Regions from separate parts of the Homo sapiens genome. Here all the other regions are linked to region 3. Evidence: promoter capture Hi-C in 16 types of primary human blood cells and fetal thymus (Javierre and others, 2016). All regions are on one chromosome and are shown on one strand. Each heading gives the region's core, a stretch centred on a gene start or on the middle of the fragment in contact. The rest is flanking DNA. Distances are from core to core; before and after follow the strand shown. Region 1 overlaps CATSPER4 (cation channel sperm associated 4). Region 2 has its middle 6.9 kb from the start of CEP85. Region 3 holds the start of LIN28A (lin-28 RNA binding posttranscriptional regulator A). Region 4 holds the start of CNKSR1 (connector enhancer of kinase suppressor of Ras 1).

The links. Contacts are between HindIII fragments. The CHiCAGO score rates a contact against its expected background, and 5 or more counts as called.
Region 1: a fragment that was not itself captured here is called in contact with the fragment with the promoter of LIN28A in region 3 in 2 of 17 cell types (M2 macrophages and M0 macrophages); the score reaches 6.0 in M2 macrophages.
Region 2: a fragment that was not itself captured here is called in contact with the fragment with the promoter of LIN28A in region 3 in 2 of 17 cell types (M2 macrophages and M1 macrophages); the score reaches 5.4 in M2 macrophages.
Region 4: the fragment with the promoter of CNKSR1 here is called in contact with the fragment with the promoter of LIN28A in region 3 in 9 of 17 cell types (M2 macrophages, non-activated CD4 T cells, M0 macrophages and 6 more); the score reaches 10.9 in M2 macrophages.

What each region holds. Positions count from the first base shown.
Region 1 is chr1:26,197,418-26,199,955 of GRCh38, forward strand. CATSPER4 (cation channel sperm associated 4) reads left to right here. Exons shown (of 10, transcript NM_198137.2): 4 at 269-366; 5 at 540-660; 6 at 869-1,002; 7 at 2,467-2,538. Among named protein-coding and RNA genes, the nearest start is that of CATSPER4, 8.1 kb to the left of the region's middle. RefSeq lists an enhancer at 555-1,054. The HindIII fragment of the contact is 8,937 bases long and covers 1-2,538 here.
Region 2 is chr1:26,225,853-26,228,651 of GRCh38, forward strand. It overlaps the pseudogene ZPLD2P. Among named protein-coding and RNA genes, the nearest start is that of CEP85, 6.9 kb to the right of the region's middle. The HindIII fragment of the contact is 1,114 bases long and covers 702-1,815 here.
Region 3 is chr1:26,409,512-26,412,416 of GRCh38, forward strand. LIN28A (lin-28 RNA binding posttranscriptional regulator A) reads left to right here and starts at 1,306. Exons shown (of 4, transcript NM_024674.6): 1 at 1,306-1,411; 2 at 1,875-2,071. The coding sequence starts at 1,381. RefSeq lists enhancers at 1-14, 15-572. The HindIII fragment of the contact is 9,111 bases long and covers 1-2,905 here.
Region 4 is chr1:26,175,817-26,178,753 of GRCh38, forward strand. CNKSR1 (connector enhancer of kinase suppressor of Ras 1) reads left to right here and starts at 1,675. Exons shown (of 21, transcript NM_006314.3): 1 at 1,675-1,783. The coding sequence starts at 1,732. The HindIII fragment of the contact is 21,071 bases long and covers 1-2,937 here.

The sequences.
Region 1 (2,538 bases), core at 39-2,538, 210 kb before region 3:
CTTAGGGACCAGCCATGTATCTGTAAGGGTCTTTGCTGTGTGTCTCTGAGACTGCATTTGGCTATTGACACATGTATGGGACAGAGAGTACACGTGTGTTTTGTGGCTTGTTTGGGGGGCGGCAGGGTAACAGCAGTGGATGGCAGCTGACTGGCCCTGCTCTGAGAGGGACATTGAGCCCTCATCCCTGGGATGTGGGGAGGGCAGACCTAGGATGCCCCCATGGGCTGGGCCTGACAGACCCCACTGGGGCTGGCCCACTCCCCAGGACGGCTGGAACATCCTCAACTTCATTATCGTCTTTATCTTGCTCTTGCGGTTCTTCATTAATGAAATCAATATTCCCTCCATCAACTACACTCTCAGGTGAGCGGGGAGCTCTGGAGAAATGAGGGGGACCTATCTGGAACCCAGGAATGAGATGGGGGGATAACGACCAGCTGGAGATCAGCTTTGCCTCTCTGGGCAGCTGGTGGGGGTAATGAGGAGGGAAGGGGCTGGGAAGGGCCTAGGGGCACCCCTGACAGGCTCTGCCACAGGGCGCTTCGTCTGGTGCATGTGTGCATGGCGGTGGAGCCCCTCGCCCGGATCATCCGCGTCATCCTGCAGTCGGTGCCTGACATGGCCAATATCATGGTCCTCATCCTCTTCTTCATGCTGGTCAGTGCCTGCCCCCGCCCCCAGCTGTTTCCCTTCCCTGAACAGGGCCCTTGGGTCATTGCAAATAGAGGGGTGTCTGGAAAAGCAGAGAGGCCTGTGGGCCTGAATCCCTGTGATTTCCTCAGCAGCGTTCATTTACATGACATTTGTGTGTCCTATTTCCAGGCCCTTTGGTGAAGTCGGGGTGGGGCTCTTTTCTCTCTGACAGGTTTTTTCCGTGTTTGGAGTAACACTCTTTGGTGCATTCGTGCCCAAGCATTTCCAGAACATACAGGTTGCGCTGTACACCCTCTTCATCTGCATCACCCAGGACGGCTGGGTGGACATCTACAGTGACTTCCAGTGAGTGCCAGTGGGACTTCCAGCCTCATCCCACCTATGGGGCAGGGTAGCCGGTGGAGCTCCAGGCTGAGAGTGGGAGCTCCAGGGATTGGGATGAGGATGGCCCAGTAGAAGTGGGGGTTCCCAGGTCTTTAAACAGAGGAAAAGGAAATACCTGGACTTGTGATACCTGAAGCCTTGTCACCCTTGAATCTCCATATATTCAGAGTCCCATTCCCACCCTGTAATGGGGACCTCTCCCATCATGCTAACCAGCTGGGTAGTTGGCCTTGGATAAGGCAGCAGGTCTGCAGTTATGCCTCAGGTTACAGAGCAACCTCCCAGCCCACCTTGGAGCCCACCAAACTGCCTGAACTCCTGGGAACTTCAGGTCTCATTTCATTCATTCTTAAACCCACTGCCCACATTCATTTTTGTGTTCTGTTCTTTACCTCTTTTCTATTAAGTCTAAGCCCTATTTCTTTCCAGTTTATTCCAGAAAGTGGGACCCCTTAACTGATTTCTTTTTATCTTCTACATGTGAGTATAGAAGCCCAGTAGATAAAGGGCTTCTACAGTCATTCTCCATTATGGCATAGGTAGTGGATAAAAATCAGGCTGGCCGGGGCCGGGCGCGGTGGCTCACGCCTGTAATCCCAGCACCTTGGGAGGCCGAGGTGGGCAGCTCACGAGGTCAGATCAAGGCTATCCTGGCTAACACAGTGAAACCCCATCTCTACTAAAAATACAAAAACAAAGCCCAGTGCAGTGGCTCACACCTGTAATCCCAGCACTTTGGGAGGCTGAGGCAGGTGGATCACAAGGTCAGGAGTTCAAGACCAGCCTGGCCAAAAAGGTGAAACCCCGTCTCTACTAAATATACAAAAATTAGCCGGACGGTGGGGCGCCTGTAATCCCAGCTACTCAGGAGGCTAAGGCAGGAGAATCGCTTGAACCTGGGAGGCGGAGGTTGCGGTGAACCCATATCACGCCACTGCACTCCAGCTTAGGTGACAGAGTGAGACTCTGTCTCAAAAAAAAAAAAAAAAAATTAGCCAGGCGTGGTGGCAAGCACCTGTAGTCTCAGCTACTTGGGAGGCTGAGGCGGGAGAACGACATGAACCCAGGAGGTGGAGCTTGCAGTGAGCCGAGATCACGCCACTTCACTCCAGTCTGGGCAACACAGCGAGACTCCATCTCAAAAAAAAAAAAAGGAGTGTAGCTAATAGATTAAACTTAATAGTGTTGATGTGCACGTCCCCACCTTGCAGGGTTGGTTAGAGAATCAGCTCACTGTCTGGCAGCACAGTAGGTGCTTAGTAGAGAGCAGCTATTGAGACAGGAGTAGGGAATGGGATCTGCACAACAGCAGTGACACAGGCAGAAGTTCTAGTAGGCCTTGGGATGATTTTCCCATTTCAATGACAAGGAAACTCAGGCTTGAAGGGCCAGGGAAATGATGGGGCCCCTGCCTGCCATCTGCAGGACAGAGAAGAGGGAATATGCAATGGAGATTGGGGGTGCCATCTACTTTACCATCTTCATCACCATCGGTGC
Region 2 (2,799 bases), core at 9-2,508, 180 kb before region 3:
CTCCTCACCGGTCTCACTCAGTCAACTTCAAGTCTGAGCCTTCTCTGCCTGTCTCCTTCCATTCTCACCTTTCCTGTCACACCAGATCACTCTTCTCCCAGGCTGTCCCTCGTGCCAAACTTTTTTGGTAAATCTTCCTTAATGATCTAGAAACAGTCTCTCCCTTCTTTCTATTCCATAATGGTCCTTCAAAACCCCAACCCTCGCCGGGCGCGGTGGCTCACGCCTGTAATCCCAGCACTTTGGAAGGCCGAGGTGGGCGGATCATAAGGTCAGGAGATCGAGACCATCCTGGCTAACAAGGTGAAACACTATCTCTACTAAAAATACAGGAAAAAAAAAAAATTAGCCGGGCGTGGGGGCGGGCCCCTGTAGTCCCAGGTACTCGGGAGGCTGAGGCAGGAGAATGGCGTGAACCCGGGAGGCGGAGCTTGCAATGAGCCAAGATCTTGCCACTGCACTCCAGCCTGGGCGACAGAGCAAGACTCCGTCTCAAAAAGCAAAAACAAACAAAACAAAACAAAACAAAAACTCCAACCCTCTTGGGAAAGCCCATCTTCTACTAAGTCCATTCTTATTAGAGGCAGGAGGTCCATCATCACACCCTTCTGAATCTCAGTTTCAAAGAGACCAAGCCCTTTGCCCAGTCTTGATAAAATAATGGGAGAATGCTAGCCTTGTCCTGCCAGAATGGCACCTTAAGCTTGATCTCTCTTTCTATGTGGTTTCATAGTCCAATGCCTCCAGCAGCAGAAGCTCGGCAGGTTGGTACAAAGATATTGCTGTGATGAAGTTCTGATGGTTGCACCAGGGTCTGAGGATACACGCTGCTGGGTCTTGGCAGGTGCTGGTTTTGGATTTTGTTTCTGCTCCACTCTATACGAGCTGAGAGAAGTCAGTTAACCTTTTTTTTTTTCTTTCTTTTTTTTTTTTTTTTTTTTGAGACAGAGTCTCACTCTGATGCCCAGGCTGGAGTGCAGTGGCGTGATCTCAGCTCACTGCAACCTCTGCCCCCCGGGTTCAAGCCATTCTCCTGCCTCAGCCTCCCGAGTATCTGGGATTACAGGCACGCACCACCATGCCCAGCTAATTTTTGTACTTTAGTAGAGGGAGGGTTTCACCATGTTGGCCTGGCTGGTCTCGAACTCCTGACCCCAGACGATCTGCCTGCCTCAGCCTCCCAAAATGCTGGGATTATAGGTGTGAGCCATCATGCCCGGCAGTTAACTTATTTGAGTCTCAGCTTCTTGGGTCTCAACAGTACATGGCACTTGTCATTGTGGGGCTGGTGGTTTATCCTTCATCAGAACCTGAGTCTATCCAGAAATGATTGAAAATTCAAGATACAGGGGCAAGCAGGTAGGAGGTGAAAATTCAAGATACAGGCCAGGCAGTGGCTCACACTTGTAATCCCAGCATTTTGCGAGACCAAAGTGGGAGGAGTGGTTGGGGCCAGGAGTTTGACACCAGCCTGGACAACACAGCAAGATGCTGTCTCTATAAAAAATTTAAAAATTAGCTGGGCATCATGGCACATGCTTGTAATCCTAGCTACTTGAGAGGCTGAGGCAGAAGGATCGCTTGAGACCAGGAGTTTGAGGGTGCAGTGAACTATGATGGCGCCACCACACTCCAGCCTGGGAGACAGAGTGAGACCCTGTCTCTAAAAGAAAAAAGAAAATTCAAGATACAGAGCCAGACAGGTAACAAGGACAGGTGAAGGTGGCTGAGTAGGGTCCACACTGAACTAGACAGTGCCTTTCATCCCCATCCTCCCCACCCCCAATTTAACTTACACACAGTCAGTCCCAAGAAAGCTTGTTGAATGAATGAATGGATTTCTAAATAATTCCCTAAAGGGGAATATCTAAGCCTAAAAACTTTCCCCTGCTCTCAATGCCACTTAATTCTGTTTTATAATCATTTCTTTCTTTCCTGCAGGAGCCTGGATGGCCATCTTTCTTCTGATAGCAATAAGCTGGATGCTGGGATAGAAGCCTGATACCTCCTCCAACCCTAGTCCTTGGCCTCTAGTTTACTCGCCTGAGGCAAGGGTAGAGTGGAGGAAGATTTAGGGAAAGCAAGTAGTCCGTTTTATTGTTACGGACCAGAGAGGTTGGGGGTGCAGATGAAACCAACATCTGGTAAGGAGTGTGGCTGATCAGCCTTGGGCTCTGCTTCCTCATCCCACCTTTGCTTCCTATCTCTGGAACTCTTCTAGGGGGAGATTGAGTTACTTAGTATGGTATGGGGAGGTGCAGAGGGTATGGCTAATAAACAGCCGGGAATTCTACTTTGTCTGACTCCTTTCTGTGTAATCCAGATCTTATATTGAGGGGGTTGGGGATGGCAGGGAGAAGTCACTTTATCCTCTATCTCTCCATATGTAAAATGAGAGTTTGAACTGATGATCTCTGCTTCAACATGGAGACTCTATGACTCTCATTCCAGGGAAAGTTCCTGGGCCTTGGCCAGCTGGCCCTAAGTCTCCTTTCTTTTTTTCTGCAAAATGGGCACGAACTATTCAATTTCAGAATGAGGATAAATGTATACACACACTATTATCCAAGCCTCCTTCTCCTGCCCCTTAATTATTTCTGACCTCATTAGCTCCCCCTTCCTAGTAGAGGGTGGATATGGCAGCAGTGTTTGTGTGAATATCATTCCTTTATTCAAAAACAGGTTGGAATCTGCTATGCACTTGTTAACTGTATTAGGCCTGGGGGATTCAACAGTACAAAAGACAGAGTCTTTGACCTTACAGAGAAAACAGTTGAGTTTGGGGAGTAGGTAGTGAGG
Region 3 (2,905 bases), core at 56-2,555:
CACTGAGCCCCGGGCCATTGTCCATCTCCGACCAGGGCAGTAGCCACCCCCACTAGCCAGCCGTCTTTATCTCCTAGAAGGGGAGGTTACCTCTTCAAATGAGGAGGCCCCCCAGTCCTGTTCCTCCACCAGCCCCACTACGGAATGGGAGCGCATTTTAGGGTGGTTACTCTGAAACAAGGAGGGCCTAGGAATCTAAGAGTGTGAAGAGTAGAGAGGAAGTACCTCTACCCACCAGCCCACCCAGTCCCTCTCTCAGCAGTGGATGGGGATGGGGTGGGGGTAGGACGAGAAGGCAGCTGGTGGAGAAACAGCTTCAAGACTCTTTGGGTTCCTCCTGCTCTCCAGGGAGCTTACCTGGGGCTAACTTTAGACACACAGGTTTGGAGGGAGGAAAGAAGGAAGAATTCTTTACAACGAATCAATTAAGAGCACTTTCTCTTTTCTAACTGGGGGAGGCCCAGAAAAACTCTGAGTCAGAAACTCTGGGAGGCAGACATTCAGATGTAGTCAGAGGCAGACAGACTTTGGAAGGCAGCGCTTTGGTCAGGACAGATCAGCCCTGTGTGTCCCCAGCCTCTCCCCTGCTCCCCCATCCCGGGCTTCCCAGTGTCCAGAACTCCAGGTCTATCTAAGCACACGGGGGTGGGGGGTGAGAGCGGGTCAGCTCCAAGCAGCCGGGTCAGCTCAGAGGCCTGAGGGGGAAGAGAGGGGGAGGGGAGCTCAAGGGCTGGGGGAGGGGGAGGGCCCATTCATTTCTCCCTTGACAGGTGGTTTGTGTTTCTGATTGGCCAGCGCCGCCAGGCTCACACCTCCCTCCCCCAACTCTCTGGAATGTATAATTATCTGCCCGGGGGGTGGGGGTGGTGTGTGTGTGTGTGTGTGTGTGTGTGTGTGTGTGTGTGCAGTCACGTGGTTTTAAAACTACCCCCCCCACCAGGTCCCCCACCTGTATCTGCTTTGGGGACCCCTACTGAGTCCAAAGTGCAGGATCTCAAATTCCGGGGTACTCAAGTCTTCTAGGGCAGACAGACCCATCTCCAGTTGTGCGTGTGGGGAGGGGGTGTCAAACCTCAAGGTTCTGAGAAGGGACACCCCAGAGGTGTCAGAGACCGGAGTTGTGGGGGAGGGCCGGAGCTGGAGCCGGAGGGAAAGGGAGGGGAAAGGAGAGGGAGGGGAGGGGAGGGGGCTGCCCGCGGGGGGTTGGGTCATTGTCTTTTAGAATTTGGGAGCCTTTGAAAAGCCGTGGGCCCTCCCACCGCTATTGTGCGGGGGAAGATGTAGCAGCTTCTTCTCCGAACCAACCCTTTGCCTTCGGACTTCTCCGGGGCCAGCAGCCGCCCGACCAGGGGCCCGGGGCCACGGGCTCAGCCGACGACCATGGGCTCCGTGTCCAACCAGCAGTTTGCAGGTTCGAGCTCGGGACTTAGCGGGGACACTTTAGGATTCAGGGGCGGCCAGGAGCCACGTAGAAGGGAGGTGGGGAACTGAGTCCTAGGCTGCCCAAAGGACCCCAAGACGGTGCGGCCTTCTGCTTCATAGGGCCGTCTCTGGGGCCAGGAACCTTGGTGTCCCAGTGGCGTGCGCGCCAGACTACGTGGGTGGATGGAGAGGAGAGGCTTGTCCCGCCGTGAGTCTCTGGGAAACGCGTTGTGGGAAGAGGAGCAAAACTTTCGGGGCACTACTGTCCCGGTGTACGCTAGGGGAACGCGGGAGGCGACCGGGATAGGTTTCTTCTCTTCTGTTGCTTGGTAGCTGCCCCCTCCTGGCTGTCCACTTGTGGGGCTGGATACTCGGGTCTCCCTGCCTGGGGCCCGAGACGGCCCTCCGATTCCGTGCCCCCCAGCTAAGTGCCCGGCCCTCCCTCTCTCCAGGTGGCTGCGCCAAGGCGGCAGAAGAGGCGCCCGAGGAGGCGCCGGAGGACGCGGCCCGGGCGGCGGACGAGCCTCAGCTGCTGCACGGTGCGGGCATCTGTAAGTGGTTCAACGTGCGCATGGGGTTCGGCTTCCTGTCCATGACCGCCCGCGCCGGGGTCGCGCTCGACCCCCCAGTGGATGTCTTTGTGCACCAGGTGAGACTGATTCCGGTAACTTTGCCCAGGGAAGGGCGTCTAGGCGCCCATATCCACGGGTGGGCTCCGGGCTCGCAGTTGAATTGAGGGCCATCGGGAGCCCTCATTATGCATCCCTGTCTTTGCTTCGGCACCCCAATTCTGAGTCCCTGTTAACTATCTCGTGGGGGAGTAGTGGGAGGCAGCACCAATTATCAGCACCCCCGCCCCCTTCCGGGAACCCCTCCGGCTTACCACGTGTCTATTACCTCTTTCCCCTGGGAAGGGGCAGGGGGCAGGGAGGTGACCCCATGTGGCAGAAACTAAGGTTGTATTGTGCTTGCCGGTGGGGGGAGGGCGAGCAGGCCGGCCAGGGAAGCACATGCCGGGCCTAAGCCGGGAGCCCAGCTCCTCCAACGTCTGAATGGAGCTCAGAAGGCGGGAGAGAGTGAGGGCAACTGGCTACTGGACCCAAGGGGCGTAAAGCCGAGAAGTCAGCCTCATCCCCTTTTTAATGCAGACCTCACCTGGCTGGTCACTAAAAACTGGGTTTGGCAGATCCCTGAAGGATCCCTGTGGGGGCTTGAAAGCTCAGGACTGGGGTCTTTGCTGTCCAGTTCCCGTGAGGAAGGAAAACCCAAAGAGCCCAGGCCTTCCTTACATTCCTGGGCCAGGCTGGGAGGGAAGTCGGTAGGTCGCAACCCCAAGTTCTCAGTTAAAGCAGGGCAGCACAGTAGGGGGTGAAATTCAGTGTCGCAGGGCAGGGGGTGAAGGGAGGCTGGCCTCTGGTCCTATTCTCCGCTTGGCATTTATGGCCCCAGACAGCCATTGATTGCTGTCTTAACATTCCTGGCC
Region 4 (2,937 bases), core at 425-2,924, 230 kb before region 3:
CTGGCTAATTTTTTGTATTTTTAGTAGAGACGGGGTTTCACCATGTTAGCCAGGATGGTCTCGATCTCCTGACCTCATAATCCGCCCGTCTCGATTATAGGCGTGAGCCACCATGCCCGGCCCAGCATTCCCTGTTTTTAGTTGTTTGCTGATCAATATGTAAGAGGAGGGGCGTCAAAGACCACCCCACAGTTTAATGTCCTTATTCAAGCTGGTCGACAACACACTGAGGTCATTAAAAAAGAAAAATTTAACTTTCGGCCAGTCTTATTAATGTTAGTAAACACATAATATAAATTTCTGGTTTTATTTTTTTGAGATGGGCTCCTGCTATGTTGCCCAGGGTGGCTTTGACTCCTGGGCTTGAGTGATACTCCCCCGCTCAACCTCTCAACCTCTCGAGTAGCTGGGACTACAGTCGTGTGCCAGCACTCCCCAGCTCCAAATTTTTTTTTTGTTTTTTGTGGGTTTTTTTTTTGAGACGGAGTCTTGCTTTGTTGCCAGGCTGGAGTGCAGAGGCGTGATCTCAGCTCACTGCAACCTCCGCCTCCCAGGTTCAAGCGATTCTCCTGCCTCAGCCTCCTGAGTAGCTGTGACTACAGGCGTGCACCACCACACCCAGCTAATTTTTGTATTTTTAGTAGAGACGGGGTTTCACCATGTTGGGCAGGCTGGTTTCCATCTCTTAACCTCATGATCCACCCGCCTTGGCCTTCCAAAGTGCTGGAATTACAGGCGTGAACCACCATGCCCGGCCAAATTTGTTTTTAAATATAGTTTTGATAATTGTTCTCATTGTAATCCTAAGCATTTTGTTTTGTGCATTTATTTATTTATTTATAATACAGAGTTTTGCTCTGTTGCCCAGGCTGGAGTGCAGTGGCACGATCTTGGCTCACTGGAACCTCCCCCTCCTGGGTTCAAGGGATTCTCCTGCCTCAGCCTCCTGAGTAGCTGGGATTACAAGCACCCACTACGCCCAGCTAATTTTTTGTATTTTTAGTAGAGATGGTGTTTCACCATATTGGCCAGGCTGGTCTTGAACTCCTGATCTCAAGTGATCCGCCCACCTCGGCCTCCCAAAGTGCTGGGATTACAGGCGTGAGCCACCGCGCCCGGCCTGTTTTATGCCTTTATAAGCAGCTATTCTGAGAAAGCATTCACAGGCCTCACCAGATGCCAGAGTCCATACTGCAAAATCCAAGGGAGGCTAAACACCCCAGTTCTAAATGTTTTCAAGCCATTCAGATACTGTGCACAGCTGCCCTTTGAAGTACGGTCTATTATATCTCTTTTACAGACCCAGAAACTGAGGCGCAGAAGTTAGGGTCAGCCCCAGGTCACACAGCTAACAAGAGCTGGCCTAGGCACCCAGGGACCTGGCCCCCTAGCCTCTGTGCTTTGCTACTGATTTCAGCGCTCCTCTTGTGGCTTTTTCTTGAGGAGCCCAAGGGTCAGGGTCCCACCCCGCGATATGAGGCCAGTGGCACTGCCCCCTAGCAGGCGCGAGATGCCAGAGCCCTAGGATGTCTGAAGGGCCGGGCAGGAGGCGGACGGGCGTGGGCCAATGGCTGTCGCAGTGCCTCATCTTGCCGTCTGTGTGAGCCCAGGTATGCAGTAGGCTCCGCCCAGGACCCAGCCCGGCCCCTCCTTAGGCCTGGGCTCTGGGAGCGGAAATTCCGGCGACAGCAGGGCAAAACAGGAGCTGATTCGAGCTGGCAGAGCTGGGCCATGGAACCGGTAGAGACCTGGACCCCCGGAAAGGTGGCAACTTGGCTGAGAGGTGGGTGGGGCTGGGGTAGAGTTGGGCTTGAAGGGGACTAGGTGTGGTGTCCCACCGGGAAGCGGGAGGAGAGGAAAAGGAAAAAAAATCTGCGGACTGGGTGCGCTGGTTCACACCTGTAATCCCAGCACTTTGGGAAGCCAAGGTGGGTGGGTCACCTGAGGTCGGGAGTTCAAGACCAGCATGGTGAAACCCCGTCTCTACTAAAAATACAAAAATTATCTGGGGGTGGTGGCAGGTGCCTGTAATCCCAGCTACTTGGGAGGCTGAGGCAGGAGAATCGCTTGAACCCAGGAGGCAGAGGTTACAGTGAGCCGAGATTGCACCGCTGCACTCCAGTCTGGACGACAGAGCGAGATTCAGCTCAAAAGAAAAAAAAAAATAATAAACTGCGGGCTCTATCAGTCGGTCAGTCAGTCAACAAATATTTACAGAGCACCTAACATGTTCCAGGAACCGTGCTGGGCAGAGAGACAGATGAGATGACCCTGGGGGGCCCAAGGACCCAGAAGGGGGCCCCTCATCATGGCAGTAGCCCAAGAGGCCTCTAGGGTGATAATGGGGAGGCGGTGTCATGAAAACAGGAGGGAGGCCTGACAGGCCCACACCCACTGTATCTCCTTCATCTTCCCTGGCCCCAGGGCCAGTGGGCTGTTGTTAAATCCGTTTCTTAGAGTCAGAAACTGACACACAGAGCCAGGAAATGATTTGCTCAGTCTCTGGTGTCATTTTCCCCGCTCCACACCCTGAGCTCCTAGTGACAGAAGCAGAAGCCCTAGGCCAGACTGAAGAGGTTGACACAGCCCCACCCTGGGGCTCCTATCCAAGGGGCAAGGTGCTGTCCAGGCTCAGCGAGCCCACACAGATGGGAAGCAACACACCCCACAGGCAGACTCAGAGAAGGAAGGGCCTCCTGACACACAGTGCGACCAGGAGCAGGCAGTCAGGACACCCCTCCCAGAGTGGGGAGCTGGAGCGCACTAGAGACAGGCTCAGGAGGACCAGCCCGGGTAAGGGCAGGAATTCAGGGCTGGGTTCAGACTCCCAGGCTGGATTCCAGGCCCACCCCCACCGCTTGCCAGCTCTGTGACCATAGGTCTTAGTTTTTCTGTCCATCAAATGGGAAAGGCAACTCTGACCTTATGAAGTCGACA